3 separate regions of the Homo sapiens genome follow, and regions 1 and 2 are each linked to region 3. Evidence: promoter capture Hi-C in human tissues and cell types (Jung and others, 2019). All regions are on one chromosome and are shown on one strand. Each heading gives the region's core, a stretch centred on a gene start or on the middle of the fragment in contact. The rest is flanking DNA. Distances are from core to core; before and after follow the strand shown. Region 1 has its middle 44 kb from the start of LINC00907. Region 2 has its middle 91 kb from the start of LINC00907. Region 3 holds the start of SYT4 (synaptotagmin 4).

The links. Contacts are between HindIII fragments. The study calls those that stand out against the background at their distance.
Region 1: a fragment that was not itself captured here is called in contact with the fragment with the promoter of SYT4 in region 3 in 4 of the 25 tissues and cell types used here (dorsolateral prefrontal cortex, hippocampus, lymphoblastoid cells and 1 more).
Region 2: a fragment that was not itself captured here is called in contact with the fragment with the promoter of SYT4 in region 3 in 3 of the 25 tissues and cell types used here (dorsolateral prefrontal cortex, mesenchymal stem cells and spleen).

What each region holds. Positions count from the first base shown.
Region 1 is chr18:42,141,114-42,143,813 of GRCh38, forward strand. No RefSeq gene overlaps it. Among named protein-coding and RNA genes, the nearest start is that of LINC00907, 44 kb to the right of the region's middle. The HindIII fragment of the contact is 9,153 bases long and covers 1-2,700 here.
Region 2 is chr18:42,094,358-42,097,057 of GRCh38, forward strand. No RefSeq gene overlaps it. Among named protein-coding and RNA genes, the nearest start is that of LINC00907, 91 kb to the right of the region's middle. The HindIII fragment of the contact is 6,150 bases long and covers 1-2,700 here.
Region 3 is chr18:43,276,140-43,278,839 of GRCh38, forward strand. It overlaps SYT4 (synaptotagmin 4), which reads right to left and starts at 1,351. Exons shown (of 4, transcript NM_020783.4): 1 at 1,109-1,351. The coding sequence starts at 1,142. The HindIII fragment of the contact is 4,332 bases long and covers 1-2,700 here.

The DNA.
Region 1 (2,700 bases), core at 81-2,580, 1.1 Mb before region 3:
AGCCAAAGTCACCCCACCCATACTGTGCAGAGATCTTGGAACAGGGGAGCCCTTTCCACTCCATGCCCAGGCAGATCTCCAGGCATTTGGAGCACTGGTCACCTAAAACAGCAGCCTGAGCAGGCCACGTTTTATTTGCAGAGATCCCGGTGTGGGGCTGGGGGAGGAAGCCCTCTCCACTCCATGCACAGCAGATTTTCAAGCACTTAGAGTACCTACTTTCCTGGATCAGAAGTTTAGGCTGTCCTCGATTCCTGTGCAGAGAACTTGGGGCCAAGGAGGCCTCTCAGCTTCACATCTAAGCACACCTCTGGGCACTTGGTGGCTACCTGCTGGATTCTCCCTTGGTGCTGGTGCTTGTGCCTGCCATTGGTGGACTGGCAGATAGACCTGTCCAGTCCAGCCTTGACCATCTTGTCCCCTACCCCTCTAGGGCTGAAGAGGGAGCTCTGACCACAGTGCACCTCATGAATCAGCCCATTCCCTGAGATAACGAGAGCTTCTGCCAGTAAACAAGGATTAAGTAAATACCCAGCTGCTTTGGCAACACTTGACTCTTACCCACAAGCTCCATCTTCTGGCTTGTAGGTCCAACTGCACAGCCCAATATAAACCTGCTGACATTCATAGGGCTATAGAAGAGAAGCCAAAAGACCCACCCACCCAGCATTCTCTAATGCAGCAGTCCCCACCCTTTTTGGCACCAGGGACCAGTTTTGTGGAAGAAAAATTTTTCTAAGGATGGTGGCAGGGGAGGGGAGATGGTTTCAGGGTAAAACTGTTCTACCTCAGATCATCTGGCATTAGTTAGATTCTCATAAGGAGTGCACAGCCTAAATCCCTCGCGTGTACAGTTCACAATAGGGTTTGTGCTCCTATGAGAATCTAATGCCAGCCAGGCGCGGTGGCTCACACCTGTAACCCCAGCACTTTGGGACTTTGGGAGGTCGAGGCGGGCGGATCACAAGGTAAGGAAATCGAGACCATCCTGGCTAACATGGTGAAACCCCATCTCTGCTAAAAATACAAAAAATTAACCAGGCGTGGTGGCGGGTGCCTGTAGTCCCAGCTACTCGGGAGGCTGCGGCATGAGAATGGCGTGAACCTGTGAACTTGGGAGGCACAGCTTGCAGTGAGCCGAGATTGCGCCACTGCACTCCAGCCTGGGCTACAGAGCGAGACTCCGTCTCAAAAAAAAAAAAAAAAAAAAGAATCTAATGCCACTGCTGATCTGCAGGGGGTGGAGCTCAGGCAGTAATGCTTGCTCCCCAGCAGCTCACTTCCTGCTGTGCCCCCTGGTTCCTAATGGACCATGGACAAGGACCAGTCTTCGGGCCAGGGGCTAGGGATCCTTGCTCTAAAGTCGTATCCTCTGGTGGGGAGGGGGGAATGGGAAAAGGAAATAAGAAAAAATAATATTATAGGGAAAGAAAGAAAAAGGAAAAAGTCCTACCTAGACAAAAATAATTACAAAACTTAGAAATGCCAGCATCTCCAGATGAGGAGCTAGCACAAAAATTCTGGAACTATGAAAAATCTTAATGTAGTGACAACCCTGAAGGATCACGCTAGTTCTCCAGCAATAATACATAACCAAAACAGAAACTCGGACATAACAGATAAAGAATGCAAAGAATGGATTGCAAGGAAGCTCAATGAGATCAACAACAAGGTTGAAAATCAACACAAAGAAACTTCTAAAGCACTCCAGGAAATGAAGAGATAAACATCTTCAAAAAACTTAAACAGAGCTTCTGGAATTGAAAAATTCAGGGAATTTTAAAATAGAATTGAAAGCTTTATTAATAGACTGGACAAAGAAGAAGAAAGAATTTGAGAACTTGAAGACCAGTCTTTTGAACTAACCCAGACAGACAAAAATAAAGGAAAAAGAATTTAAAAAAATAAAGTCTTTGAGAAATATAGGATCATGTAAAGTGACCAAACATATAAATTATTGACATTCCTGAGAGAAATGGAGAAAAGGGAAACAATCTGAAGAACATATTTGAAGGAATAATTCAAGAAAATTTCCCTAATCTTGCTAGAGAGGTAAATACCCAGATATAAGAAATCCAGAGTAAATATGTGAGATACCATACAAAATGAGCATCATCGAGGCATATAGTCATCAGACTGTCCAAAGTCAACATTAAAGAAAAAAATCTTAAAGACAGCTAGAGAAAAAGGTTGGACCACTTACAAAGGGAACCTCATCAGGCTAACAGTGGATTTCTCAAAAGAAACCTTAGAAGCCAGGAGAGATTGGGGTCCATTTTCAGCATTCTTAAAGAAACTCCAAACAAGTATTTCATACCCTGCCAAACTAGGATTCATAAGCAAAGGAGAAATAAAAGTTCATGCAGACAAGCAAGTGCTAATGGAATTCATTACCACTAGATCAACCTTACATGAGATCCTTTAGGGAGTTCTAAAAATAGAAGTGAAAGAATGATACCTGCTACCACAAAAACACCCTTAAATGCATAGCCCACAGACCTTATAAAGCAACCACACAATAGAAAATAAAAAGCAACCAGCTAACAACTTCACAATAGGATCAAAACCTAATATATCAATATTAACTATGAATGTAAATGGTTTAAATACCCCAGTTAAAAGGCATAGAGTGGCAAGGTGGATTAAAAACAAAGCTCATCCATCTACTGTTTCCAAGAGATCCATCTCACACATAACAAT
Region 2 (2,700 bases), core at 171-2,670, 1.2 Mb before region 3:
ATTCAACCTGAATTTCTTCATATCATGTCCTCCTACCTCCATGGCTGCTCTTTCTCAGTCTCCTTTGTGAACTCTTTCTACTGTTCAGCCTCTAAGTTTTAGACCACCAGGGTTCTTGTTCCTGGGACTCTGTTTTCTCTCTGTACTCTCACAGTGATCTCATCCAATCCTGTGGCATTAGATGCCATTCATACACTAATGACCAGGACTAGCTTCATGGGCATGCTATCTGTGAAGCTGCACAAGACCTCACATTCTGATGGGCCCTGTGTTTAGTTTAATGCAATGATGTTGCTGTCTTAAAAGCTTTAATAATTAATTTGATCTTTGAATCGATATTGTGTAAGTGAAGACTGATGGGACAATGGAGCACGTGTACCAGCAGAGGATATGCCACCATGTATGTGTCTACCACCACTCTTTGACAATCCATTTGCCACATGAACACAGAATTCTGGTGGGCTTATATGCATGTGGTTCAATGAGAAAGAGAGAAAAAAAGGTACCGTTTACATCTACAATGGAATAAGTGGGGACACTGACATTCTCAAGAGGCCACATTTTCCATTTGAACAAGAACTTGTTTAGACATAGAACACAAAAAGTCAAGAAACCCTATGCACACCCTGAACTCAGCATGCTTATGTGTGAGCTGTGGGGGCAGAGGTGATAGTATGAAGGTTAAGGTCCATCCAGTGCATAGCAATGCCCTGATGAGGCTACCATCTGGCCACACTTTTAATTTCACATACCTCTGGGCTTAGTCATTTTCTCCTAGGACCAGCACCTACACCTGAAAGAGGTGACAACTTCAACTACCCACCTGGTATTGACCTTAGGTTATCATCCTAGACTTCTGATTCACTCAACAATATTTTATTTGGGGATCCTTGATGTCTTCCACATCACTGGGCTTTTGAGAGGCACCTACTCCTATACCATAAGACTCCTTTATCTCTGAATCTTAGAAAGAGTTGAAATAAATGGCTTTATAAAAAAACAAAAAGTTCTCTAGGATCCTCATGTAACTTGCTCCATCCTCTCCCCCAAGATCTGCATGCAGAGACAGGACCTAGAAGAGAATGCCAGCTTCCCTAAGTCAGACCAAAAGTCCCCACCCTCCTTTTCTACAGGAATTATTACTTTCTGGTATATATCGGTGTAGCCTAGTGTCATGAACATAGGTGTCAAACCCAGAGCACCTCAGTTCTAAATCTATGTTTGCTTATATCTTACCTGAGTAACACTGAGGAAGTTGCTTATCTTCCCTGCACCTCAATTTCCTCATACAAAAAAAAAAAAGCATATAATAATAGAATTTACCTTTTGAAGTTGTTGTATCTTTTAAATAAATAACTCAATTTACAGGGCTTGTAACAGTGTCTGGCCTACACAGCATTATGTAACTATTCTGCATTATTAATTTTTTGAAGATGGGTAAAAAAGTTATTTATTCAAGTAATAATTTATTGAATCTTTATTGTATGTTTAGCATTGGGGGTACAGTTGTGAAAGGAACAGACATGTTTCCTACCTGCATGGATTTTACAACCTAGTAAGGCAACAGTTGGAGAGACAGACAGGAAGCAATCATACAAGCAATTTAATAGTTATAAAATGTAGTAAGTGCTTTGAAAGAAGCAACTGTGTGTGGTTAAAGAGAATACAAGAGGAAAATCTAGTTTAGATATAATCACCAAAAAAAGTCATCTGAGGAGATAATACTTTAAGCCAAGAATAGATGATGAAAGGAACCATGCATGAAAGGTTGAGGGGTAAAGGGAGCAGGAGGGGCATTTTAATTACAGGGAGCAGCATGTGCAAAGGTCTTAAGCCATGAAAAAGCTTGCTTTGTGCAATAACCTGAAAGAAAGCTAGTATGTCTGGAACCTGGTAATAAAGGTGAAACATTAAAAAAGGAGCCTGGAGAGGTAGGTGGAATCAAATCATACATGGGCTTATAAACCATGGGAAAAGTTGGAATTTTATTTAAGTGCAAAGGAAATCAGTGAACCAAATGATTAGGTTTAACTTATTAAATTATCACTTTGTTTCTTTCATAGAAAATGGACCTTTGGGGAAAAATCAGGAAGACTAATTAGTAATCTAGGAGAAAATTCTGGTGGCTTGGATTAGGGTGGTAAAAGTAGATATAGGGAGAAAGGAAATGAATTTGAAGCATGATTTGGAGAAAAATTGGATAGGACTTGCTGATGGATTGACTATGGGAGAGAAGAAGAGGGAGGAATGAAGATTGACTCTCAGCATCCTGGTGTGAGCAATAGAGTGAATTTTGGGGGCACTTGCAGTGATTAGGAAGACAGAAGAAAAGTTGAATATTTTAGGGGGAGATATAGAGGTGAATTTTCAGTTAGCTTATACACTTTGAGATAGCTCTGAGATATTTTACCTGGGCTGCCAATTAAAAACATAGCTTCAATAAGAGTCACAGCTTCAGAAAAGAAATTTGAGAGGTATAATTTTGAGAGTTATCTGTTAGTAGATGGTATTTAGAACATAAAAAGTGAGAGATGCAAGTGATGAAGAATACCCAAAAGAATATTGAAAAAAAATTAGAGAATTCAAACTCCCTGATAAACTTACTACAAAGCTACAGTAGTCAAGATGGTGTGGCACTGGCTTAAGGATAGACACACAGATTAATAGAATAAATTTAAGAATCTACAAATAAACCATTAA
Region 3 (2,700 bases), core at 101-2,600:
ATAAACCCAATAACCCAAATGGAAGGCTGGGAAAGAAATTCATTTATGAACATAATATCACAAATTGTCCCTATTGAATAGTTATGTCAAATGGCAAACATTTTCTATAACGTGGAAACACTTATCTACTCCCTATGTATTCTCTACTGATAAGGTCTTACAATCTTGAAAGTCAAGATCATAGTTATTTTACTCAGCTTAATAACAATTATCACACATCTGTAGATATCACTCCTCTTCACAACCTTCTATGAAATTTCATGATTTAAAAAATACGTGTAAGTAAAATTCTGACCTTTTTCCTTTGGAATATACTGAGATCTAAAAATAGTACTTTTTTACTCTATGAAGTACGTCTAATTTTATGTACTGAAACCAAAAACTTGGTGTGAGAAAAGGAAAACTGAACGGGAAAATTGGAGCCCTAATTCAAGTTTCCAGCAGCTTTTAGCTAATTGTGCAACCTATAATACTTCCCTCATCTCTCTGGGCTTTGGTTAGCTCAGCAGTGAAATGAAATGGGCTGAGCCAGTTCATTTTGAAACTCTCTTTAACCCTGCTACCATATGATTCTGTCTTTCACTAGCAACATATTTCAAGGATACAAGAAAAACATAGCAGAGAAAAACACCCATATGGTACGCCCTGTAATAAAATATACATTGCCAAACCCCAATAGACAAGTTGCTTTTTTTAACCAAGATCAAACCCCAATGTAACCAGAGATATATTTATCTTCTCCTAATAAAATATAGATTTACCTACAAATAAGAATCACCTACAAAATAGATGAAACCAACATGGGAAAAACAGACCCCTTTTTCTTTACTCAGTACATGCTGCAATTTACAGAAGTACCTGAAAATTTAAGAACTTCCTGAAGGTAAATTCTCCCTAACAGAAGACAGTTTCAGGGAGAGAGATACCAAGGAAGGGAGAGAAGCTGCAGAAATAAGCCACAATTGCCTGACTGCCATTCTCATTTTCCTTTTAAATTAACTACCTAGGAAATCTGTATTCAACAACCGGGCAAAAAATAAATGAATAAACAGTCCACCCCAGAGTATTCAAGGAATAACCGCAGTCATAAGTTCAGTAACTTGCTTACCAAATTCTTCCCGGCTGGTGGTGATCGGAGCCATTTTTTACTGCGTGTTCTGTCCGAGGTGCTGAAGGGAAAACTGCCTGGCTGGATTCACTTGCCTGGATCTCAAGCGCCGGCTTTCGGAGCGCTGAAAACAACAGCGCAGAGCCCAGGGCACCAGCTCCTGGAACAGGGAGGAGGCAAAGAGGGAGGTCCACTCGCCCTCGCACAGTGATTTGCCACCTCGGTTCCTGTTTTGGCTCTTCTGAGAAGCTCGTCTCCGAGACTCCAGACGTGGCTGGAACCCGAATTGACGCAATCCTGACGCTACAGGGCTGAAATCAGCACCTGCCCCCCTCCCCTCCTCCCTTCAAGCTTTCCTTCTTGCTTCCTCCCTCCTCTCTTGAGGATTCAACACATGCTCATCAATTATTTTAACTGTTGGACCACTAGAGATTAGCTTTGCTGTTTTGTGGGGGCTCAGAGGCTCACCGAGATAAGCCCCGAAACTGATCCCTGTCAGTTCCTAATATAAAATCTCCTGATCACCTAGATGAATAAAAATATGTTTCTGAGTTTTCAGAATAACGTAACTTACAGAGGAGAAGTTTCTGCTTCAAATTACTCTTTTTAACATGCAAAAACATGTTTTCTTGCTTTTTAATTTTTTTCTTTGACATGTTATACCTATGATACTTATTACATTTAGAAAAGATTCACTACAAATTGATGCATTTGATATAAGATAGTTTTCCCAGTATAATCCTTTATGTTCTAATAAATTATTAGTCTAAATATTTTGCTGGAACAGTTGATCTTTCCTGGTCTCTCAGCTCTCTTCCCTTTAATATCTGACATTTGACCAGTTAAAGCACTTAGGAACAGATGGGGATAATTCCTTGGATATTCAGAGTCACTCTCAGTTATGACTTTTGCAAATAATAAGGCGCTTCTGAAATGACATTTATGGTTAAAAGGCCTGACTTCTAGTACGTTTGTACAAAATAGTTTCCAAAATCAGGCCAACATCTAAAGTAACATTGGTAACATTGGTTATTTCAAAGGAAAGCATTCCTTTTTCTAAACTGATGATATTCTCGGAGGTGAAAAACTGTGAAAAATATGGTGTCGGATTCTGATTCATTGGAATCTGAAGAGTGTGCCTTTCTAAAACAAATGCTTAGCAATTTTTCAAAGGAAAGAAGTCAAGCTGTAACTCCAACTGTCAATTATTGCTCTGCAAAGAATTTCTTTGCTCTGGAGTTAATAAGGAAATGGCATTCAGTGTGTGCTGGGATGTGGGAGAAGGGATACAGGGTGAGTCTCAGAAAGCTACTGTGCAAGTGACAGGTCCCTGCACATTGGCTAGCAGCAGCCCAGAGCATCAGGGCTCTGTCTGGGGAGAAATTGGCTTCAGTTCTTTGCATCATGGAAAATTTTATAAACCAGTCTTTTTTCTTTGCTATTCTATTTGCTCCCACATACTTGGCATTGGAGTGTTCCTCTAACAGATTTTTTTAAACTTTATATCTTCATGCTTTGAAAACACACAAACTAATTTGCTGTATTTAATTTTTCTGCTGGCAGAGTCTGTGGTTGTGTCTTTATCATTTCAC